Linked DNA regions of Homo sapiens: all the other regions are linked to region 4. Evidence: promoter capture Hi-C in 16 types of primary human blood cells and fetal thymus (Javierre and others, 2016). All regions are on one chromosome and are shown on one strand. Each heading gives the region's core, a stretch centred on a gene start or on the middle of the fragment in contact. The rest is flanking DNA. Distances are from core to core; before and after follow the strand shown.

Region 1 (4,284 bases), core at 916-3,415, 600 kb before region 4:
TGCACCCTCAGCAGCCTCTCGCCCACTGACTCCCCTCTGCACTTGGCTGAATTTTCTTACCTCTTTAGCTTCCTCTTAGCCTTTTGATACTCTTACTGTGGCATGCTCATGTGCACGCACACACACACACACACACACACACACACACACAAAACTACCCCAGCCCCCCAGAACATTTCCAGCACTGGTGTCTTTACACAGCCCTTACCCACCCACCTCCATTTATATTTCATCTGCAAAATGCTCATCTGAGCCACTTCCCATTCTTTCTCCTGCACACACAGTCACCACTAGAATTGCACATCCCCCACAGCACAGCTCCCAGAGCCTTCATAGATGACACGGGATTCACCTAAGCTTGCTTTTTGTAGAAACACCTTGTGATCACCCTGGCAGTGATTATGAGCTTCAGGTCTGGAATCAGACTGCTGGCTAGACTAATCAGACTGGTTAGAATCCAGGATTTATCATGTGTCAATTGTGTGACTTTTGGAAAGTAGATTAATTCATGAACACCATTTCCTCCTCTGAAGTGAGGAATAATAACCGTGCTTTTCTCACCTCAGGGGCAGATGCTATTTTTTAGGCAAGATCTGCTTAGAGGTCCCAGTTTCTTATTGCTGCCCTTCTCTGCTGTAACTCTTCTCCCCTCATAGACAGCTCCACTCCTCCAGCCTGCTGCTTGTTGACACCAATTCTCTGGAAGGGGAGTGACATCAGTCATATATGCTTTAGGGGGGTATTTAAGCTGCTATGACTCTTCTCAGGGGCATTTCTCTCCAAAGTCTCACTTCTAATCACCAGGCCACCTGCTAATGATAATTAGATCATGGGTGGTCAGATGAAGGAGGCACTGGGAGAGGGGAAATCCCCATATCTCTGGTATCCCAGCAAATAGATAACCATCATTCCAGCCATCCTTTTGTTTTCTTTCTTTCTTTCTTTCTTTCTTTCCTTCTTTCTTTCTTTCTTTTTTCGCTCTCTGTCAACCAGGCTGGAGTGCAGTGGCGTGATCTCAGCTCACTGCAACCTCCACCTCCTGGGTTCAAGTGATTCTCCTTCCTCAGCCTCCCGAGTAGCTGGGACTACAGGCGCCTGCCACCATGCCCAGCTAATTTTTGGTAATTTTAGTAGAGACGGGGTTTCACCGTGGTCTCGATCTCCTGACCTCGTGATCCGACCGCCTCGGCCTCTCAAAGTGCTGGGATTACAGGCGTGAACCACCATGCCCAGCCTATCCTTTTGTTTTCCATCCTGTGTTGGCTTGGTGGGGGAGAGGAGGTGTTGACACGTGGAGGACACACATATAAGGCATTCTTGGGTGACTTCGTCATCACTGGACCCTATCTCTCAAAATTCCAGCGAAATCTGCTCTTCCCTTTAAGGAGTGAAAGAAGGGTCAGCATTCCAGAAGTTCCTGGTCATACCCAGGCTTTTAATGAATTGCCACTGGGGAATCAGCATCCCGTTGCTGTAAGGACTATAAGATGGCGGATTGTGAGAGCATAGGGAAAGGTCTCGGAGGTCTCTTGTCCTTGCTCCACGCAGGTCTTTCTGGCCTGAAAATCCCGTTGAAGAGAGCAGCTCTTGAGAGTTTGCTCCAAGTTCCCTCGGGGTGATCAGCACCACGGACAGCGGCCAGGGCGCCCCCGAGGACCCGCAGGCAGGCAGGGTGCACAGCGGCGAGCAGGTGCTGCGCTACGTGCGGGCCAGGGAACTCGCGCGGGGAGGGGAGAGGCGCCGCGGGTGGCGGGGTCTTGGCCGGGGCTGTTTTCGCTGTGAGTCACCCCGTGCTCCCCGCGCTCACGTCGGTCCTCGGAAAGCCGGGGTCCTCCCTGCCTTTTCCAGCAACGGTGGGGTGGGGAGGCAGGAAGAAAGCGCCAACCTAGGACACCTGGACATTTGCAGGAAAGGAAGAAGCGGGAGACGGGGACTTGTCTGTGTCTCCAGCGCGTTCCTGCCCCCCGGCCCGACCCGGCCCATTTCTATACAAGGTCGGCTCTGCCCGGTCTCCACCTCCCACGTCGCAGGCGCGGAGGGGCTCATTCCCGGGCCCTGATCTCAGAGGCCCGGAATGTGGCTGATAAATCAGAGATAACCCTGCATGGCAGGGCAGGCCCGACACTCAGCTCCAGGATAAAAGGCCACGGTGTCCCGAGGAGCCAGGAGGAGCACCCCGCAGGCTGAGGGCAGGTGGGAAGCAAACCCGGACGCATCGCAGCAGCAGCAGCAGCAGCAGAAGCAGCAGCAGCAGCCTCCGCAGTCCCTCCAGAGACATGGATCCCCAGACAGCACCTTCCCGGGCGCTCCTGCTCCTGCTCTTCTTGCATCTGGCTTTCCTGGGAGGTCGTTCCCACCCGCTGGGCAGCCCCGGTTCAGCCTCGGACTTGGAAACGTCCGGGTTACAGGTGAGAGCGGAGGGCAGCTCAGGGGGATTGGACAGCAGCAATGAAAGGGTCCTCACCTGCTGTCCCAAGAGGCCCTCATCTTTCCTTTGGAATTAGTGATAAAGGAATCAGAAAATGGAGAGACTGGGTGCCCTGACCCTGTACCCAAGGCAGTCGGTTCACTTGGGTGCCATGAAGGGCTGGTGAGCCCAGGGGTGGGTCCCTGAGGCTTGGACGCCCCCATTCATTGCAGGAGCAGCGCAACCATTTGCAGGGCAAACTGTCGGAGCTGCAGGTGGAGCAGACATCCCTGGAGCCCCTCCAGGAGAGCCCCCGTCCCACAGGTGTCTGGAAGTCCCGGGAGGTAGCCACCGAGGGCATCCGTGGGCACCGCAAAATGGTCCTCTACACCCTGCGGGCACCACGAAGCCCCAAGATGGTGCAAGGGTCTGGCTGCTTTGGGAGGAAGATGGACCGGATCAGCTCCTCCAGTGGCCTGGGCTGCAAAGGTAAGCACCCCCTGCCACCCCGGCCGCCTTCCCCCATTCCAGTGTGTGACACTGTTAGAGTCACTTTGGGGTTTGTTGTCTCTGGGAACCACACTCTTTGAGAAAAGGTCACCTGGACATCGCTTCCTCTTGTTAACAGCCTTCAGGGCCAAGGGGTGCCTTTGTGGAATTAGTAAATGTGGGCTTATTTCATTACCATGCCCACAATACCTTCTCCCCACCTCCTACTTCTTATCAAAGGGGCAGAATCTCCTTTGGGGGTCTGTTTATCATTTGGCAGCCCCCCAGTGGTGCAGAAAGAGAACCAAACATTTCCTCCTGGTTTCCTCTAAACTGTCTATAGTCTCAAAGGCAGAGAGCAGGATCACCAGAGCAATGATAATCCCCAATTTACAGATGAGGAAACTGAGGCTCAGAGAGTTGCATTAAGCCTCAAACGTCTGATGACTAACAGGGTGGTGGGTGGCACACGATGAGGTAAGCTCAGCCCCTGCCTCCATCTCCCACCCTAACCATCATCACCCTCTCTCTTTCCCTGACAGTGCTGAGGCGGCATTAAGAGGAAGTCCTGGCTGCAGACACCTGCTTCTGATTCCACAAGGGGCTTTTTCCTCAACCCTGTGGCCGCCTTTGAAGTGACTCATTTTTTTAATGTATTTATGTATTTATTTGATTGTTTTATATAAGATGGTTTCTTACCTTTGAGCACAAAATTTCCACGGTGAAATAAAGTCAACATTATAAGCTTTATCTTTTGAAACTGATTTGTCTTGGCGCATTAAAAATAATCCCTCATTTCAAAGAAACCAACCCAACTAAAACCACAAAGCCCTGTGATCTCAAGGCATCTTCATGGTGGGATGAGGATGTGGCCTCAGAGGTAGCAGGCTTTCTTTTCTTTCAGAGTTTTTAATGCTCTGAAATGTTATTGAATATCTCAAGCACTTGAGGCACTTGGGAGAAACTGCTTTTCAAAGCAGGGCAGGATACGTGTGCAACCTGAGGGCACGTATCCAGCCGTTTTCTCCACTCGTCCTTGCTCTGCCTGGAATTCCACCATTAAAGCACTCTCCCTGGGGATTATTGCTTTCAGGTCTCAGCTAAAATGTCAACGACTGGGGGCAGTGTGTGTGGGTGTGGCTCATCTACATTCCCATACCGGGGTGAGCCCTCCATCCTGCCCCAAATATCAGCTTTGAAACTCCAATTCCTGGGGTCATCCTGCAAAGGAGCCTTCAAAACTCCAACCCACAAAGTGAGAGGGGTCTGGCAATCAGCCCAGCTTTCCAGGGTGCCCCTCCCCTGGGGCTGCATCATCTCTTCTCTTTGCCTTAACCAGTGGGGAGGCTGTCTCTCCTATGGGTCCCCTTCCCACACACCCTGCAATC
Region 2 (4,260 bases), core at 825-3,324, 720 kb before region 4:
AAAGAGGAGAAGCTGAGAAATCGAAACAAAAAGAGTATACAGGGTAAAGGGGACAGAGCAGAGTCTTAAAAGAGCAGTGACAAGGAGCCAACCTGTGCTGGGCCGAGATGGGGAAGAGCCAGCACAGCAGAGACCAAATGAGGGAGACAGAGACTAACTCTTCAGGGAGCCCAAGAGATCCCAGCCACTTCTGAACTGTCAACTTTTAAACAGGCTCTCTAAGCAACCAGCGAAATCCTTCACGGAAGTAAAAGATACGGTAGTTTTTCAACACAAGTTAGAAAGCTGTGGCTCTATACAAAGAGGATGCCATTCAAGAGACTTGCCACCAGAGGTCCAGGAGAGCACACCCCTGTCCACTCAGCTCAAATCCAGGGTGCCAGAAGTCACAGCTACTACTTACTTTTTTGGATGGTGAGAGATCTTCACAGGGTAGGCATCATGGACATGGCTGAAGTCCAAAAGACAAAAAGATTCTGAGTTCTCTTCTGTCCTGTCTCAGGTTGAGGTTGGCTATTGATTGACTGTGTTGACTCCACCAGTCCTGACTTATTAGAAAAGAAAAGGGAGATGGATCCGGTGTCCAAAAAAAAAAAACACTGGTGTACAAAACATGTCTAATCAGGTTTCAAGCCAAACAAACTCATCCCTGAGGGAAGCTTACTCATTGAGGTATTGGGGAGTTGCGCTGGCATGTGAGGAAGTGCCCTGGGGAAAAAAACGCAGAGGTGTGGGACCAATCCTGACTGTGCACACGTATTCCGCCATGTGCGGGTTTGAGGCACCACGGAGGTCCCTGCAGGAGCCCTGGGAAAGGTACATCCAGAGAGGGGAGAAGAGGACAGAGCAAAACTAGGAACAAAACTGGGCTTGAGGACTGTGGAACAGCTGACTATTGAGGAACAGAAGAACTGACTGAAAGCCAATGTGTTCAGCTACTGTAAAGTATCTCACTTAATTCTCTATTCTGTGGGACAGAGGGCTGGAATACTTGAAGATTTGTCTAAGCTGGGATCTGAAATATTAGCTCCCTTTGACTCCAAAGCTCCTGGAGTGCAGCAGCGCGATCTCGGCTCAACCTCCGCCTCCCGGGTTCAAGCGATTCTCCTGCCTCAGCCTCCTGAGTAGATGGGATTACAGGCGTGTGCCAGCAAGCCCGGCTAGTTTTTGGTTTTAGCACAGACGGGGTTTCACCATGTTGGCCAGGCTGGTCTCCAACTCCTGACCTCAGGTGATCCGCCCGCCTCAGCCTCCCAAAGTGCTGGGATTACAGGTGTGATCCACTGCGACCGGCCTCCTTCCTTTTTTAACTACATTGAGCTGCCTTCCTCCCCCAAGCCCCAAACCTTGGGACACCAGAGGCGGATAACCAGAGCCCTTTTCTGGGTAGAAAAGAGATAACCAGAGCCCTTTTCTGGGTAGAAGAGAGAGAGATGATTGAGAATTTAAAGAGGGCAATGAAGGATTACGAGAGGGGGTAACGGGCAGTTCTGCCTTCGTGCGTCTTAACAGCTATTTATTCAACATTTTCTGTGTGCCTTCTCTGTGTGTGTCAGGCGCCACGTTAGAAATGGATAAGAAACAGTCCTGCCCTCCAGGGCCTTACAGTCCGGTGAGAAGTCATATAAGTAAACAGGGCTGAACGAGAAGGCAGTAACTGCCCAAAGTGGGGATGGCAGGGCGCTCCCGCGGTGAACGTGGACACCTATCAGGTGCTGAGTAAATGCTGGCAAAATGAAGACAGGATGAAAAATAGAGAAGGGGCAGGGGTAGAACATGGCCGTGAAGGGTGGAAAGGCGGGGGCGATGAGAAGCTACAGGGGACCCCACCGACCAGTCCCAGGTCCCGTGGCCCGCCCCCTCCTCTCAGGGCCGGGGAGGGCCCGGCGGCGAGGCCGGAGAGTGGGGACCCCGCTTGACTGCATCCCAGACCCCCGTGGCCCCAGAATCCCGTCGGCCCACGCCGAGCTGCTCAGGACTCGCCGGGCCGGGCCGGGCCAGTCCCCGCCACCCCGGCTTGCTCGCCCTCTCACCTTCACCTTCCCGGCCTCGCGGCGGCCATCACACTCACTACGTCACCAGCGAGCGCCACCCCAGGGGGAGGCGGGAGGAGGGAAGTGGATAAGCGCGTCACCAGTCGCCTCAGATTGCCCCTCGACCCGGGTGAGCTGGTGGACCCTGAGCCCAGCCGGCTCGCCCCGCCTACTCCTTACGCCTCTGCTGCCCCGCGACTCGGCGCTTCGAGCGGCGTCTCAGCGCGCCACTCCTCCGCGCGCCACTCCTCCGCCGGCGCGTCCCAAGCGGACGACGCAGAGGCTCGGACTCCCACTGCATCATGGGGGCTGTAGTTCCGGTGGGCGTCGGCCGGAGCTGGGGGGGCGGGGCAAAGCGGGGCGGAGCCTCAAGCTGTCAAGGGGCGAAAAACCAAGGGCGTGGAGTAGAGGTTCCCGCTTTTTCGCCGGTTGTCCTAGAGCCTGACCCTGGGGCCTCTGCCAGCTCTGGAATCCAGATTTGCATTCTGTAATCTTAGAGGAGTGTTCTCTAGAGGGCCAGGCCTAGGGTGAAGTGACTCATCGGGCAGACAGAAGCGAGCATGGGCCTGCTGCCCTTCAGTCGCCTTTGAGGAAAGAAGAGCAGCAACAACGGCGAATCAATGCCAGTGACTGAACTGCGTCTCTAACATCCACCGCTGTATTTAACGTCCACAGCAGTCCCAGGAGAGGGAGAGGAGAGGTTACCCAAGCTCACATGGTTACCCAGATCACCGGGCCCCAGTGATGCGGCAGACACTACTAGGAAACCGCAGCAAACAGATCCCTTGCAGGACTTGGCCTCCGCAGAGAAGGCTCCAAGCCTGAGCGCGCCAGAACAGTAGGCACTAGCCACGTGTGGCTCTCGAGTCCTGAGCCAGTGCAAACGGAGATGCGCTATAAGACTTAGGACAAAAAAGGCTGTTAAACTATCTCAATTTTTAGGAAAAAAAAATATCGACCGGGCGCGGTGGCTCAAGCCTGTAATTCCAGCATTTTAGGAGGGCGAGGCGGGTGCATCGGGAGTTCAAGACCAGCCTGGCCAACATGGTGAAACCCCGTCTGTACTAAAAATACAAAAATTAGCCAGGCATGATAGTGCACTCGGGAGGAAGAGGCAGGAGAATCGCTTGAACACGGGCGGTGGAGGTTGCAGTGAGCCGAGATCATGCCACTGCACTCCAGCCTGGGCAACAGAGACTCCGTCTCAAAAAAGAAAAAAAAAATCTATCTTTGAGCCAGAGTCTCACTCTCACTCAAGCTGGAGTGCAGTGGTGCAATCACGGCTCACTGCAGCCTCGAACTCCTGGGCTCAAGTAATCCTCCCACCTCACTCAGCCTCCCAAGTAGCTGACCACAGATGCTGCAGCCATGCCTAGTATTTATCTTTTGTAGACATGGGGAAGCATTTCACTTTGTTACCCAGGCTGGTGTCCTGAACTCCTGGACTCCTGGAGTCAAGCAATCTTCTCCTGCCTCGGCTTCCCAAAATGCCGGGTTACAGGTACCTGCCACAGTGCAGGGCTATTAGCCCATTACTATTTATATGCTGACTACATGTTGAAGTGATAATATTTTGGGTCATTTGGGTTAAATACATTACTAAGATTAATTGCACCTGTTTCTTTTTAAAAATGTCGCTACTAGAAAATTTAAAATTACATAAGTAGCTTGCATTTGTGGGTCAAACTGTAATTCTGTGGGATGGTGCTGCTCTATAACCATGGTAGAACAACCTCAATTTATTGCCACAAACAACCTCAAGAGGCAAATCAGTACTCTGATATAGAAGTGACTGGTTTATCAGTCTCATGACGATGGCCAAAGGGAGCTGTCCTGCCCACACTGCCCTCTGAGTAGCCTAGTGCCCCGCGGGTCTGACTGTGGACTGTGGGGCCACACGCAGACTCAGCCTCAGGGTGTAGACAGGGCCCTGTCTGGGATGTAGCGTGCCTTGGGGCCTCAGCTGCTAGCTGCCTGGTACTGGGTCGGATTGTTTCCTCCTCCACAATCTCTGGACTCCCTAAGGAGAGGAACTCTAAATTCCACTTCCATTCTCTGAGGGCAGGAACTATAAATTCCATTTCCTCTTTTTTTTTTTTTTTCTTTTTTTTTGAGAAAGAGTCTCGCTCTCACTCTGTTGCCCAGACTGGAGCTCAGTGGCACCATCTTGGCTCACCGCAACCTCCGCCTCAGGCAATTCTCCCGCCTCAGTCTCCCCACTAGCTGG
Region 3 (3,731 bases), core at 122-2,621, 560 kb before region 4:
GCCACTTTCTGCAGGAATCTGCATTCTCAGTTTCCTGACATTCTGGAAGGAGGTGGGGAAAAGGAGTGCGGGACTCTAAAACCTCCTAAGCGAGCAGGTGAATCCAAACCACCTCACCTCAATGAGAACAAGGAGGCTTGCCAGGAAGACAAAGGTGAGGTTAAAACCCAGGAGTTCAAGGAGAGACAGAGCGAGGCAGCCTTTCTGGCTGCACTCCTCCACCGCTGCGGAAACTGGGTTAAGGAAACTTGTTCATCAGCCGAGGGGTGTCCCCGTCATCACTTGAGAGGGTGCAGCTGCTTCTCCTTTGGATCATGCTGGCTGCTGAGTGCACTTTTTCTCTATATATAAAAATTTTTTAAAAACTGCCTGAGATGACTGGGTGCAATGGCTCATGCCTGTAATCCCAACACTTTGGGAGGCTGAGGCAGGAGGATCACTTGAGCCTAAGAGTTGGAGGCCAGCCTGGGCAATGTAGTGAGACCATGTCGCTACAAAAAGTACAAAAGGTATATGCCTATGGTCCCAGCTACTCAAGAAGCTGAGGTGGGAGGATCGCTTGAGCCTGGGAGGCTGAGGCTGCAGTGAGCTGTCATTGCACCACTGCATTCCAGCCTAGGCAACAGTGTGAGGCCTCATCTCTTAAAAAAAAGAAAAAATTGTTTGAGATGCCTTTGACATTAGGAAATACTTCAAACATTACAAAAAGTAACGAATACCCATACCCTCACAACTGTAGCTTTAACAAATCTCAACAACATGCCATATATGCTCCAGGTATTTTTAAAAAAGAAAACATTCAGTACCATTTTAAGAAACAAAACAAAACAAAAAAAAAAACAGTTTTCCTTCCTCTCTCCCCTGGGAGAAACCACTAACCTGAAATTATTGTGTGTATTTCAAAAGTGTCCACACTGTTGTACACGGCACTTGTATATTCTGTAACTTGCTCTTTTTTTCTCAACATTAAGTCTTTGAGAATTAGCCATGTTGATACACACAACTCTGTGGTTCGTTCACTTTCACTTGTCTAAAATTTTTATTTTACAATCTACAGAAATGACATGATGTCTAAAATGATACCATATGAATGTACCATAATTTTTCCATTCTCCCATTTGGTGACTCCAGCTTTTTGCTATCATAAAGCTATAATTACCACCTTTGTACATGTCTACGGTTCAAATTTCTAAGAGGAATGTATGAGTCACAGGAATGTGCACCTTCCTTTTTCTAGAGGTTTACTGGCCAGTTTTTCTCTTTTGAGAATTCCAGTTCACATCCTTTGCTCGTTTTCCTTCCATTGGACCATCTGTTGTTTTTCTGATTGAGTTGCAGGAGTTCTTCCTGTATTATTTGTTCTGAATCAGAGTCTCATTCTGTCACCCAGGCTGGAGTACAGTGTTGCAATCTCGGCTCACTGCAACCTCCGCCTCCTGGGTTCAAGTGATTCTCCTGCCTCTGCCTCCCAAGTATCTGGACTAAAGGTGCACACCACCACACTCAGCTCAATTTGTATTTTTAGTAGAGACAGGGTTTCACCATGTTGGCCAGGCTGGTCTTGAACTCCTGACCTCAAGTGATCCGCCTGCCTCGGCCTCCCAAAGTGCTGGGATTACAGGCGTCAGCCACCGCGCCCAGCCTCTTCCTGTATTCTGGATACTAATTATCTGCCTCTTAAATGCATAGTAAATAACCTCTCTCAGGCTGTGGACTTGTTTTCACTTTATTTATGGTGTTTTATTGTTGTTATTTGGAGTTTTTGTCTTTATAAATACAATATGTACTTTGATGTGGTCAAATTTATTGATTTTGTTTGTTTTTTTTTTTTGTTGTTGTTTTTTGAGACAGTTTTGCTCTCATTGCCCAGGCTGGAGTGCAATGGCGCGATCTCGGCTCACTGCAGCCTCTGTCTCCCGGGTTCAAGCGATTCTCCCACCTCAGCCTTCCAAGTAGCTGGGATTACAGGCACCCGCCACCATGCCCAGCTAATTTTTTGTACTTTTAGTAGAGATGGGGTTTTGTCATGTTAGCCAGGCTGGCCTTGAACTCCTGACCTCAGGTGATCTGCCTGCCTCGGCCTCCCAAAGTCCTGAGATTACAGGCATGAGCCACTGCACCCAGCCATTGATGTTTTTGTTTGTTTGTTTTTGAGACGGAGTCTTGCTCTGTCACCCAGGCTGGAGTGCAGTGGCGTGATCTTGGCTTACTGCAAGCTCCGCCTCCCAGGTTCATGCCATTCTCCTGCCTCAGCCTCCCCAGCATCTGGGACTACAGGCGCACACCGCCACGCCCAGCTAATTTTTTTGTATTTTTAGTAGAGACGGGGTTTCACCGTGTTAGCCAGGATGGTCTCAATCTCCTGACCTTGTGATCCGCCTGCCTCTGCCTCCCAAAATGCTGGGATTACAGGCGTGAGCCACTGTGTCCGGCCCCATTGATGTTTTTTCTTATAGTCTGTGCCTTCTGGAGTTTTAAGAAATTATTCCCCACTCTTGACAACATATAGTCTCCCGAAGTTTTGTTCTGCATATTTACATCTTCATCTGGAATTTATCTTATTTATAGTATGAAATAGGAATATAACTATTTTTCCATATGGATCACCCATGTCCCAGCATCATTTTTTTTAAGACAGGGTCTTGCTATGCTGCCCAGGCACAGTCATGGTGCATTACAGCCTCAAACTCCTGGGCTCACCTCCTAAGTAGCTGGGACTACAGAGATGTGTATCTTTTATTTATTAAATAACACAGCGTCTTTTATTAAATCATTCATCACTCCCTCACTGATTTGTAATATTAACTGTCATTCACCAAAGTTCCATGTATGTGAGGACCAGCTTCTGCTTCTCTATCATTTTCCACTGTCTAGGTATTCCTGCACCAATATGACCAATTTCAATGACTGTATCTTAAATTTTATGACTTTTTTTTCCCTAACTCCCCAAACTTGTTAATTTTATAAGACTTGATATCTGACAGGGTCAAGTCCACCTTCTTGTCATTTAGAACTATACTGACTGCTTTTGGCCCTTTACTCTTCTACACAAATTTACAAAGAATTTCTGAGTTCCACAACAAATTCTATTGGAATTTTGATTGGAACTACATTAAATTTACAGATTAGGGAGTACAGGCATCTTTGCGGCATCTGTAATCTTATCAACCACAAACATAGGTATATGTCTTTGCTTATTAAAGTCCTTCTTTTGTGTCCTTCAGTGATCATTAGAAATATTAAAGCTGAATAGCTAATAAGCGGCCCTTCTAATACTATGCTTACTGTTAGACCCATTTCTATGTAAGAAAGAATCTTGGTGACCACTGAAGTCCACGAACACCAGGAACCGTGAAAAGGATACATGTCTGTACCACTCCGAACTTGAGTTGGGTGAAGAGTCGCACAAAAAAGTCCACAAAGAGACCCACCTGTGAAGAGCAAGAGATCTGTCACACAGCCTTATTTCCAAGTGTAGCACAAGTATAGTACAGGTGTGCTCCTCTTGAAGGCATCTCCTCCCCCACTGCACATACGGAGGCTGCTCACCAGCCAGCAGTACGTGAATGCACAGCAGAAAAGCGCAGAAGGAGGAGATCCCTTCTCCAGCCCAGTCCCACTGCCCCTCCAAAGAACAAAGGCAGAGAGTACAGCTAAGTTGAGTGAAGCAACGGAAAACAAAGAGGGAAGCAGGTGCAGAAAAAGATGTGAGACCAAGAAAGACTACTGAC
Region 4 (3,687 bases), core at 54-2,553:
GCCCGCCTCGGCCTCCCAAAGTGCTGGGATTACAGGTGTGAGCCACCGCGCCCAAACGAATGCATCATATTTTATTGGACTCCTACTTTGAAATATTTAGGAATTTTCAGTGTTTACTATGACAAATAGCACTGTGATTAAAAAAAAATGTAGTCAAATCCACTTTTGCTGTTGATTTTTTTTTTTTTAATCTGTAGAGACATCGTCTCGCTATGTTGCCCAGGCTGGTCTGGAACTCCTGGCCTCAAGCGATCCTCCTGCTTTGGCCTCCCAAAGTGCGTGGGCCACCGTGACCAGCAGTTATTTATTTTCTTTGGTTGTGTGTGTGTGTGTGTGTGTGTGTGTGTGTGTGTGTGTGTATGTATGTATTGAGACGGAGCTTGCTCTGTTGCCCAGGCTAGAGTGCAGTGGCACGATCTCGGTGCATGCAACCTTCACCTCCCGGGTTCAGGCGATACTCGTGCCTCAGCCTCCCGAGTATCTGGGATTACAGGCGTGAGCCACCATGCCCAGCTAATTTTTGTATTTTCAGTAGAGACGGGGGGTGCGGGTGGGGGAATTTCACCATGTTGACCAGGCTGGTCTCGACTCCTGACCTACGGTGATCCGCCTGCCTCGGTCTCCCAAAGTGCTGGAATTATGGGCGTGAGCCACCGCGCCGGGCCAGCTATTGATTTTTTGAAAGGATTTTTAAAAAATAATGTTGCTTTGAAAATTTTTATTTATGACTAGCTCTTTTGGTTAAAACTTGGCTATGGTTTCTCTGGAGTGATCCTGAGTTGGATAATTTTGGGAAAGTTAGAGAATCTAATTAAAAACATTTTCAAATGCTTATTAATTGTAACAAAAGAGATATCACAGGATCCATAAAGAGCGCTAGCCCGAAACGTCTTTTGATGCAGTAATTCCTGGGCACCGGCATCGCTCACATTCTCCTCTCAGAATTACACCGGGAGGGGTCGCGAACCTCTGCTAGCCGCTCTCGCTGCGATCCGGAGATACCCAGACACCGGACTCCTTGAGTTCACAGCCCGGATGCAGAAGGGAATCCTAGCAGCGCCGTACCGGATGTGTGAGTGGAAGTGACTGAGGTGAACTCACGACCGATTGGTTCTCCCGAGTGGACCCAAGCCTGTTTTCACCTGCCACTGGCCGCGTGGTTTGTCTATTTGAACAGTCCCCGCCCCCTGGAGAAGCCGGGTCCTGAAGCTTCTCTTCTTCATTACTATTGGCCTGTTTTTCAGTCCATCTTCTCCCTATACCTGTCGATTGGTCCTCAGGGCTGGGAACCCTCCTTCCCTCGCTCCCGGCTTAGAGGACAGCGGGGAAGGCGGGCGGTGGGGCAGGGGGCCTGAAGCGGCGGTACCGGTGCTGGCGGCGGCAGCTGAGGCCTTGGCCGAAGCCGCGCGGTGAGTCTAGGGCCTGGCACGACCCCTCTAGGGCGGCGTAATGTCCAGACCCACGGCCAGCCTGCCCGTGGGGGGGCCAGGGGAAGCCGCCCGTCTGGGACGTGGGGTCCCCACATTGCCGGCCCCACGACCTGGGCACCGTCTGAGGCCTTGACTCCCACCCCTCGAGGCAACGCCCACCTCCCCGGGACCCCCAAGAGACCCCTGGACCCTTCGGCCCGCGGTACGTCCGCCCGAAGGCCGGCCCATCAGCTCTGGTATTGCCCTTTGGGTCTTTTGCCTGTCACAGCCACCCTTTCTTTTGAGCCACGTATAAAAATTGTGTATCTCTGCCCCAGGGAACACTAGCGTCCGTGTCAGCCCCTTGTCCTCCACTGTGGACACCTCTCAGAGATCCAGTCCCCGAAACTGAGCTTGGTTACATCGTTGGGGTACATCTTCTCTCCCTCTCCCCCAGCCCCATCCCTGTTTCCCCCATCCAATCTTAACTTCCTTAAGCCCTATCAACACCATTAGGATATTTGACTTCAGATATCCTAAGTTTAATTGAATTCAGTCTGGAGCAGATGGCCTGTGGGCCTCAGATCATATAAAGATACACTGGTTCTTTCCTGAGAATAGAAATCCCTTGCCAGCCACCTTCCCCCCTTTCGGACGCACACACATACACACAAACTGGAGTAGTTTTCTTAGCAGGGATTCTTAAGTTTCTTCTCCCCTAAAGGATGACATTTCTTTCTGCAGTCTTCTTCTTGGCAGTGGAGTATTTGAAAGCTTTACAAAACCAATTATTCCCAGGTTTTTCCTCTGTGCCTTACAAATTCTTTCAAAAATAAGAATTTTGAGAAATTGGTTTTGTAGCATAAGCTGAACATACTTGGGATAGGTGTATGTTACACCCATGGCAGTGTGGGCATAATTGAGGAATGAGGGAATGAGCTCAGGAACTAATTGGTGTTTTTTGTTTTGTTTTGAGACGGAGTTTCGCTCTGTCGCCCAGGCTGGAGTGCAGTGGCTCGATCTCTGCTCACTGCAAGCTCCGCCTCCCGGGTTCCCGCCATTCTCCTGCCTCAGCCTCCCGAGTAGCTGGGACTACAGGCGCCCGCCACCATACGGCTAATTTTTTTTTTTTTTTGTATTTTTAGTAGAGGCGGGATTTCACCGTGTTGGCCAGGATGGTCTCGATTTCCTGACCTCGTGATCCGCCCGCCTCGGCCTCCCAAACCCGGCCAGGAACTAATTACTTTCTTTTAGCTTACATTTGAAGAGCTAGTCCCCTGTAGAACTGCGTTGTTCAGTACAAGAACCACCAGCCACATGTGGCTGTGGAGCACTTGAAATGTGACTAGTCCAGGCCGGGCATGGTGGCTCACACCTGTAATCCCAGCACTTTGGGAGGCCAAGGCGGGCAGATCACCTGAGGTCAGGAATTTGAGACCAGCCTGGCCAACATAATAAAACCCCATCTCTACTAAAAACACACAAAAATTAGCCAGGCGTGGTGCTGCACATCTGTAGTCCCAGCTACTCGGGAAGCTGAGGCAGGAGAATCATTTGAACCCGGGAGGTGGATGTTGCAGTGAGCCGAGATCATGCCACTGCACTCCAGCCTGGGTGACAGAGCGAGACTCTGTCTCAAAAAAAAAAAAAAAAATGACTAGTCCAAATTGACATTGTTGTAAGTGTAAAATGCACATTAGATTTTGAAGACTCGCTAAAAAAAAAGAATGGACACTATATCAATTTTTTAAATATTGATAACATGTTGAAATGATATTTTGGATATATTGGTTTAGGTAATTAATTTCACCTGTTTCTTTTTACCTTTTAAAATATGGCTACAAGCAGCCTTAAAATTACATTTGTGGATCATTGTATTTCCTCTTTTTTTTTTTTTTAATTGAGATGGAGTTTTGCTCTTGTTGCCCAGGCTGTAGTGCAATGGCCCAATCTCAGCTCACTGCAACCTCTGCCTCCTGGGTTCAAGTGATTCTCCTGCCTCAACCTCCCAAGTAGCTGGGGTTACAGGCACGCACTGCCACGCCTGGCTAATTTTGTATTTTTAGTAGAGACGGGGTTTCACCATATTGCCCAGGCTGGTCTCAAACTCCTGACCTCAGGTGATCTGCCCACCTTGGGCTCCCAAAGTGCCGGGATTACAGGCGTGAGCCACTGTGCCCGGCCTAAATTTCCATTAGATAGTGCTGCTGTAGAATAATAATCTCTCTTTTTAGACTGAACTTGAGGAAAGGGGCAGTCTTAGTCATTTTTAATTCTT
Region 5 (3,817 bases), core at 663-3,162, 790 kb after region 4:
AGCGCCCGGCCCATATTATTCTTATTGAGTTAATCTCTGCCCATCCCCACAGTGCCATGGGCACATTTAGGGACTTGCCAATGGATGAATGCGAAGAAACTTGGAAATTAATTTTTAGACATCAGTTCAGTTCCATTCATTGAGTGCCTACTATATGCTAGGGACTTTGGTAGGCCTTGAAATAAAAACATTCAAGACTCAATCCCTACTCCCACGCCCAGGCCAAACACACTTACAATTACAGTATTATGGGGATAGGACTCGGATAAGTGTGCAGGTCTATTGGGAGAACATAAAAGGGGGCATTTTGAAGAGAAGAGGCTTCTACAAAACGTCATTATTTTACACTGGTTGAATTGTTAGATTTTTTTAATTGTTAGATTTTAAATTAAATATTGGACGGGAGCAGTGGCTCACACCTGTAATCCCAACACTTTAGGAGGCCAAGGCAGGAGGATCCCTTGAGCCCAGGAGGTTGAGGCTGCAGTGAACTATGATTATGCCACTGCACTCCAGCCTGGGCGACAGAGCGAGACCTTGTCTAAAAATAAGATAAGAAAATAAAAAATGAAATTATATGAAAAAGGATACATACATTAGAGTTAACCGCCAGCTCCTATTATAGTTGTGTTTTGATCAATATAGACTGCTTAAAAGGGATGACTTAATGAATAATTCCTCCTACTAAACGCTGTTTTAAATGTCTAAACTTTTCTTGAGATAATATCCAATTTCCTCTCCCACGTTTTTTTTGTTTGTTTTTGCTTTTGTTTTTGTTTTTGCTTGAGACGAAGTCTTGCTCCTGACGCCCAGGCTGGAGTGCAATGGTGCGATCTGGGCCGACTGCAACCTCCGCCTCCCGGGTTCAAGCGATTCACCTGCCTCAGCCTCCCAAGAGCTGGGACTACAGGCGTGCGCCATCACGCCCGGCTAATTTTTGTATTTTTAGTAGAGATAGGGTTTCACCATGCTGGCCAGGCTGGTCTCAAACTACTGACCTCAGATCATCTGTCCGCCTCGGCCTCCTAAAGTGCTGAGATTACAGGGGTGAGCCACCGCCCCCGGGGCCCTTGCCCACGTTTTTATAAACAAAATATGAGGTGGGAGGATTGCTTGAGCCCAGGAGATCAAAACTGCAGTGAGCCATCATCGCGCCACTGCACTCCAGCCTGGGAGACAGAGCGAAACGCTGTCTCAAAAAAAGAAAAAAGAAACAAGGAAGGAAAGTGTCCCCCGAATGAATAAATATGAGCAGATAATTACTTCTAGTTTACATAAAATGCCCTCTTTTAAGAGAGGAACTTTTTGATCATTTTTATTACTATTCTTTTAATCTTAGATGTTTATTTTTCAGGAGGAAAAAAACAAACTTTTCCATAGTAGCAGTATTAAAACAAAGATGAATATGTTGTCAAGAGGCATCTGAACAATCTCCAACAGTGCCGAGTCGCATTTCCCCTTTCCTCTCCGATGCATTTGAGACTTTAATGCTTACTATATTTATTTAAGCGTTTTGTTCTGAGACCCCAAACTAATTTGCACAGTTGAAGCAGGAAATAGAATGGGTGGAAACATGCGGGTGTCTGTATTAGCATTATGCATCTCATATGCGAATAGGAATGCTCTAAAAATTCAATACAGTATACATGCGTGTGCATCGTCATGCAAAATAAGTCTCTATTGGCCTTATATTTGAACGCGCGAATGCAGCTCCTAAAAGTTAAAAACAACTCCTAGGCTGAATCGCGCGATAGAACGAAAGCGGCTTTAAACCCAGAGACTACAGTTTCCGGCATGCTTCGACGCCACACGTGATTAGCGGCAACTAGAACTACATTTCCCGGCGTGCCCTGGTCTCACGTGTGATTTGCTGCGGAACGAACTACATCTCCCGGCAGGCTGCGGAAGGGGGTCGAGTAGAAGGACCGCCGCTCCGGCCTCCCGCGACTTCTCGAAGGTGGGCAGGTCCCACCTTGTGGAGGATGGAGGTGACCGGGGACGCCGGGGTACCAGAATCTGGCGAGATCCGGACTCTAAAGCCGTGTCTGCTGCGCCGCAACTACAGCCGCGAACAGCACGGCGTGGCCGCCTCCTGCCTCGAAGACCTGAGGAGCAAGGGTTGGCTCGGGACCCCGGGCGAGGGTGTGGGGGAGCCAGGGCCGGGTGAGGACGTCCGGCGGGGGCGAGGCGGGGTCAGGAGAGGCGACTTGGGGATTCTTGTATCTCGGGTGGAGGCTTGGGACAGAAACGGTCCGAGTGGGCATAGCGATTTACAGATTTAAGGCGCTTGAGCGTAATTAATCTCGTGTGAGACTCCACGGTGGTGGGAAGACAGCCAGGAAGCAATGTGCAAATTAAGCCAGACTCGGCTTAGGTCTCTTGCCTGAAATCACTTCGATGTTGGACCAAACGGACCCCACTGGGTTCCTGCCACTCCGCCACACTCAGATGGTACAAGAACCCCCAGCTGAGCCCACGGCGGTGTGGGGAGGGGTTTCCACCGTCCGCTCTGGCAGGAACCTATGCAGGAAAGAGGGAGCTGCTACTGACCATTTCTGGAGGTCCAGACAAGGAACGTGAGTTGTAAGTGACGGAGCCGACGGAAGTTCCGAGCCCGGCCCCATACCTTTACCAGCTGCTTGGCCTTGCACTTAACCAGCTCTCAACCCTCAGTTTTCTCATCAGCAAATTGGGTATAATATTTATAGCCCTGCTTCAAAGGGTTGTTGGTTCTCTCAAATAAGATGATATATTTAAGTGACTTACAAGTCTTATTAGCCAGTAGCAACAAATCGCTTACCCAAAGAAGTTTTACAGGTTACATGTGTGAGCCAGCCCCAGGCATGTAGTCACAGTGTGTGTCAGAGGGCACAGTTGCTTCCTCTCAGTCACCAACAGAAATCATATGGAAATTTTCAGAGACCCATGAACAGCCAAAGCATTATAAATGCTTTGGTAACATGGATTTTGCATATAAGCATTTATGTATTTTTTTTCCTGACATTAGATTACTTTACTTCTAATTCCCCTTCAGTGCCGTGGCTGGATGTGCGTGGCACAGAGGCTGGTGTTCTCTGCAGTCCAGCGCATACATGCCTTGCTGTTCTATTGGGTGGTAGACAACACCGCTGAAGGATATTTGTAGTCTCTTGGCTATTTCTGATCACTCCAGTCCCGTTAGTATTTGAAGCATTGCTATCACTAAATGGAATAGTACAGACCTGTCCTGGAGAAAGCCTCTCCGCCAATGATAATGATATGAAAAGCTACTGATAGAAGCTTCCACTTCTTTTATACTTTCCCATAGGTTAGAAAAGAAGCTGCTAAGGAAGATACTGTAAAGAACAAAAAGCATTTTCTTTTTTTTTTTTTTTTTTTGAGACGGAGTGTCACTCTGTCACCCAGGCTGGAGTGCAGTGGCGCTATCTCGGCTCACTGCAAGCTCCGCCTCCCGGGTTCACTCCATTCTCCTGCTTCAGCCTCCCGAGTAGCTGGGACTACAGGCGCCCACCACCACGCCCATCTAATTTTTTGTATTTTTTAGCAGAGACGGTTTTTCACCATGTTAGCCAGGATGGTCTCGATTGCCTGCTTTGTGATCCACCCGCCTCGGCCTCCCAAAGTGCTGGGATTACAGACGTGAGCCACCGTGCCTGGCCTTTTTGGTGTATTTTTTGACATTTTTACACATAGGAGAATTTAAGAGGACACCTGAGGGCCGGGTCCGGTGGCTCACACCTGTAATCCCAGCACTTTGGGAGGCCGAGGTGGGCGGATCACGAGGTCAGGAGATCGAGACCATCCTGGCTAACACGGT
Region 6 (4,263 bases), core at 121-2,620, 660 kb before region 4:
AGTGGCGCGATCTCGGCTCACTGCAACCTCTGCCTCCCTGGTTCAAGCGATTCTCGTGCCTCAGTCTCTCAAGTAGCTGGGATTACAGGCGCCCACCACCACGCCCAGCTAATTTTTGCATTTTTATTTTTTTATTTTTATTTATTTATTTTTTTTTTTTTGAGACAGAGTCTCCCTCTGTCACCCAGGCTGGAGTGCAGTGGCGCGATCTTGGCTCACTGCAAGCACCGCCTCCCGGGTTCACGCCATTCTCCTGCCTCAGCCTCCCGAGTAGCTGGGACTACAGGCGCCTGCCACCACGCCTGGCTAATTTTTTATATTTTTAGTAGAGACAGGGTTTCACCGTGTTAGCCAGGATGGTCTCGATCTCCTGATCTCGTGATCTGGCGGCCTCGGCCTCCCAAAATGCTGGGATTACAGGCGTGAGCCACCGTGCCCAGCCTAATTTTTGTATTTTTAGTAGAGACAGGTTTTCACCATGTTGGTCAGGCTGGTTTCGAACTCCTGACCTCAAGTGATTTGCCCATCTCAGCCTCCTAAAGTGCTGGAATTACAGACGTGAGCCACCACTCCTGGCCTCTGGTGGTTCCCCTTCCCCTCCTCCTCCCTTTTCCTTTCTTCTTCTTTCTTCCTCTTCTTCTCTCTCCTTTTTTTTTCCTCCACTTTTTCGTATTGTTCCAAGTGTTTTTTTGCAGTGAGGATAGTCTTTTTTTTTTTTTTTTTTTTTGAGACAGAGTCTCACTCTGTCGCCCAGGCTGGAGTGCAGTGGCGTGATCTCGGCTCACTGCAAGCCTGCAACCTCCGCCTCACGGGTTCAAGCAGTTCTCCTACCTCAGCCTCCTGAGGAGCAGGGATTACAGGCATGCGCCACCACGCCCGGCTAGTTTTTGTATTTTTAGTAGAGATGGGGTTTCACCATGTTGGTCAGGCTGGTCTCAAACTGCTGACCTCGTGATCCGCCCGCCTTGGCCTCCCAAAGTGCTGGGATTACAGGCGTGAGCCACCGCGCGCGGCGAGAGGATGGTCATTTTTACAGAAACAAAGTTGTTGTGTGTGTGTGTGTGTATGTTTTTAAATTTTGGGGCTGTTGAATCCATCAGTAGCAAAGGGGCCCAACACGTGTTCGGTTTGGCTGGCTCGATGTTTTTTTCACGAGTGAATTGGATGCTTCCAGTCCTCCCCAGACCCCTGCACTTAACTCCACTGGACTTCACTCTTCCGGCCTGGGAACGAGTGGTCCCGCCCCCGGCAGCTTTTGTCCCGCCCTCGCCGTGGCTCCGCCCCCTTCTCTCCGGCCTGCTCTCTCTCCTCCCTCCGCCCTCCCGTTTTCCATCTGTCGTAAAAGACACGGCGACGCTTGACCGCCGGCGTCGTTTGACGGCTGGAGGCCACCGAGAAGAAGGAGGAAGCAGGGGTGGCGGCTGCTGCGGCGGTTGCGGCGGGGGCCGGGGTGGGCGCCGCGGTCCGGGCCGGGCAGTGAGGCGCGGGCGGCCGGGCCGGTGGGCTGGGCGGCGGGCCCGGCGGCCGCCCTCGCACCCTTGCCCGCGCCTGGCGGCCCGATGTGGCTGCAGCAGCGGCTCAAGGGGCTGCCGGGACTGCTGTCGAGCAGCTGGGCCCGCCGCCTCCTCTGCCTGCTTGGCCTCCTGCTGCTGCTTCTGTGGTTTGGGGGGTCCGGCGCGCGGCGGGCGGCGGGCGGCCTGCACCTGCTGCCCTGGTCCCGCGGTGAGCCGGGCGCCGCCGAGCCGTCTGCCTGCCTGGAGGCGGCCACCCGCGCCTGGCGCGGCCTGCGGGAGCGCGGTGAGGTGGTACCGCTGGGTCCTGGAGTGCCGGCCCTGGTGGCCAACGGCTTCCTGGCCCTGGACGTGGCTGCCAATCGGCTGTGGGTGACTCCCGGGGAGCGGGAGCCCGCCGTGGCGCCGGACTTTGTGCCCTTCGTGCAGCTGCGCCCGCTGAGCGCGCTGGCTGAAGCTGGAGAGGCGGTGCTGCTGCTGCGGGAGGGGCTTCTGCGCCGCGTGCGTTGCCTGCAGCTGGGGTCCCCAGGTCCTGGCCCCGTGGCCGCCGGCCCCGGGCCCGCCTCCGTCTCTGGCCTTGCCGCGGGGTCCGGCCGCGACTGCGTGCTGCTGCAAGAGGACTTTCTGGCGCACAGGGGCCGACCCCACGTCTACCTGCAGCGCATCCAGCTCAACAACCCCACGGAGCGCGTGGCCGCGCTGCAGACTGTGGGGCCCACTGCCGGCCCAGCCCCCAAGGCCTTCACCAGTACCCTGGAGAAGGTCGGAGACCATCAGTTCCTCCTCTACTCAGGCCGGTCCCCGCCTACGCCCACTGGGTTGGTGCACCTGGTGGTGGTGGCCGCCAAGAAGCTGGTGAACCGCCTCCAAGTGGCTCCCAAGACGCAGCTGGATGAGACGGTGCTGTGGGTGGTGCACGTCTCTGGCCCCATTAACCCCCAGGTGCTCAAAAGCAAAGCAGCCAAGGAGCTCAAGGCGCTGCAGGACTTGGCACGGAAGGAAATGCTGGAGCTCTTGGACATGCCAGCGGCGGAGCTGCTTCAAGACCACCAGCTCCTCTGGGCTCAGCTCTTCAGCCCAGGTGAGTCCTGGCCAGCGCTTGGTCCACCCTAGATATGTCCCTCCCAAGTCTGCAGAGGTGACACTGAAGGTGATGGTGGGGTGGTTGAAACTTGGGCTTGGCGTTTCACCAGTGGTTGAATCTGCTCAACTGCTTAGTGTCTGTGCGACCTTTGGATTCGTCGCCTAATCTCTCTGGGCCTGTATTTAATAACAATAACGCCTACCTCAGAAGGTTTTTATGAGACTGTAGTGGACAATTGAGTGTAAAGGTCAATTCTTTCTGTTACTTGTTTTGGTAGATGGGGCCTGATGTGAGCAGAGTGAAGTGTTTTAGAGTCAGTTTGCAGAGGTGAAACCAGCAGGTGGATCCCCTGATTCTTTGCTCAGCACCGCAGTCGGCCTGGTGACAGACGTGGGCTTCTTGACATAACCCCTGCTAGGCTGAGGTGCGTCCTGGCAGTTGTGGCTGCAACTGGTTCACAGGGAGGTTGGAGAATCCCTTTTAGCAGGTTGAGATGCTCCCGCCCGATGAAAACTCTCCTCTCGTTGACTGTTAAAGAAAAGAAAATCCTGTTCTGGATGAGAGAGGGGTTTTGGTTTCCAGGGTTCCAATTGTCTGAACCTTTGTGTTTGGTTGCTCAGAGAGTTGAGTTCATTCAGCAAGTATCTATTGAATGCTTCTGCCAGGGCTGTTCTATGCATGGGGGGGTGCAGATGGGAACCAGAGTTCCTGTTCTCATGGTGCTTGCTTAAATTCTGGTTGGGAGGAAGACAGACATTAGAAAAGTGAAAATTAAAATTAAAATAAGGCATCTTTTTAGGCTAGAATGTGCTGGCTGGGCGCGGTGGCTCACGCTGTAATCCCAGCACTTTGGGAGGCTGAGGCAGGTGGATCACCTGAGGTCAGGAGTTCAAGCCAACCTGGCCAACGTGGCGAAACCTTGTCTCTACTAAAAATACAAAACTTAACCTGACCTCATGATCCGTCCACCTTGGCCTCCCAAAGTGCTGGGATTACAGGCGTGAGCCACCGCGCCCGGCGAGAGGATGGTCATCTTCACAGAAACAAAGTTGTGTGTGTGTATGTTTTTAAATCTTAGGGCTGTTGAATCCATCAGTAGCAAAGGGGCCCAGCACGTGTTTATTCAGCAAGTGTCTATTGAATGCTTCTGCCAGGGCTGTTTTAGGCATGGGTGGTGGCCTGCACCTGTAGTCCCAGCTACTCAAAGGCTGAGACGGGAGAATCACTTGAACCCGGGAGGCGGAGGCTGTAGTAACCTGAGATCGTTCCACTGCACTCAAGCCTGGGCAACACAGTGAGACTCTGTCTCAATAAACAAATAAATACATACATACATAAAGCTACAAGACTGGAGAGAGAAAGGACAGAGAGGAGAAGTGGCCTGAGACTGGCCTCAGCACTGGTGACTGATCTGGCGCAGGATGTCTGACCATAGGGTTGGTGCCAAGTCCTGGCTAAGTCTGTGTTCCTCTGGGCTCTGGCACCAGGCCCCGCTGCTTTTTAACAGGATTCTAGATTTCAGGCCCACAGGCTCAAGTTGGTCGTGTAAACAAGACAGGCTGACTTTCTTCTATACTTTAGGGAGATGGGCACCACTGTCTTTATCATTAAGGCACAACACCTCACTCTTCTGCTGCCCTTGGTCTTTATTTCGTATGCTCTGCCTCC

Evidence for each region. The method cuts DNA at HindIII sites, captures the fragments that hold promoters and counts their contacts. A CHiCAGO score of 5 or more calls a contact.
Region 1: the fragment with the promoter of NPPB here is called in contact with the fragment with the promoter of MTOR in region 4 in 5 of 17 cell types (endothelial precursors, naive B cells, total B cells and 2 more); the score reaches 7.1 in endothelial precursors.
Region 2: a contact is called between the fragment with the promoter of MFN2 here and the fragment with the promoter of MTOR in region 4, in 7 of 17 cell types (fetal thymus, total CD8 T cells, total B cells and 4 more). The highest score is 12.1, in fetal thymus.
Region 3: a contact is called between a fragment that was not itself captured here and the fragment with the promoter of MTOR in region 4, in 1 of 17 cell types (naive B cells). The highest score is 5.8, in naive B cells.
Region 5: the fragment with the promoter of DFFA here is called in contact with the fragment with the promoter of MTOR in region 4 in 10 of 17 cell types (fetal thymus, total B cells, M1 macrophages and 7 more); the score reaches 9.7 in fetal thymus.
Region 6: a contact is called between the fragment with the promoter of KIAA2013 here and the fragment with the promoter of MTOR in region 4, in 9 of 17 cell types (fetal thymus, monocytes, non-activated CD4 T cells and 6 more). The highest score is 10.8, in fetal thymus.

Annotation. Positions count from the first base shown.
Region 1 is chr1:11,856,826-11,861,109 of GRCh38, reverse strand. It overlaps NPPB (natriuretic peptide B), which reads left to right and starts at 2,165. Exons shown (of 3, transcript NM_002521.3): 1 at 2,165-2,408; 2 at 2,641-2,896; 3 at 3,439-3,646. The coding sequence starts at 2,277. The coding sequence ends at 3,455. RefSeq lists a silencer at 1,600-1,766. The HindIII fragment of the contact is 3,284 bases long and covers 360-3,643 here.
Region 2 is chr1:11,978,258-11,982,517 of GRCh38, reverse strand. It overlaps MFN2 (mitofusin 2), which reads right to left and starts at 2,074. Exons shown (of 19, transcript NM_014874.4): 1 at 2,034-2,074; 2 at 404-548. RefSeq lists an enhancer at 233-332 and silencers at 1,789-2,028, 2,199-2,458. The HindIII fragment of the contact is 7,841 bases long and covers 662-4,260 here.
Region 3 is chr1:11,819,188-11,822,918 of GRCh38, reverse strand. It overlaps CLCN6 (chloride voltage-gated channel 6), which reads right to left. Exons shown (of 23, transcript NM_001286.5): 5 at 3,365-3,431; 6 at 118-224. Among named protein-coding and RNA genes, the nearest start is that of CLCN6, 15 kb to the right of the region's middle. The HindIII fragment of the contact is 5,075 bases long and covers 1-3,731 here.
Region 4 is chr1:11,260,167-11,263,853 of GRCh38, reverse strand. MTOR (mechanistic target of rapamycin kinase) reads left to right here and starts at 1,303. Exons shown (of 58, transcript NM_004958.4): 1 at 1,303-1,409. RefSeq lists an enhancer at 956-1,115 and a silencer at 1,536-1,585. The HindIII fragment of the contact is 974 bases long and covers 1,212-2,185 here.
Region 5 is chr1:10,470,624-10,474,440 of GRCh38, reverse strand. It overlaps DFFA (DNA fragmentation factor subunit alpha), which reads left to right and starts at 1,912. Exons shown (of 6, transcript NM_004401.3): 1 at 1,912-2,118. The coding sequence starts at 1,983. RefSeq lists enhancers at 1-382, 2,344-2,443. The HindIII fragment of the contact is 4,411 bases long and covers 1-3,281 here.
Region 6 is chr1:11,923,534-11,927,796 of GRCh38, reverse strand. It overlaps KIAA2013, which reads left to right and starts at 1,370. Exons shown (of 3, transcript NM_138346.3): 1 at 1,370-2,592. The coding sequence starts at 1,560. RefSeq lists enhancers at 1,151-1,445, 1,100-1,763, 1,764-2,426 and a silencer at 1,446-1,515. The HindIII fragment of the contact is 9,969 bases long and covers 1-4,263 here.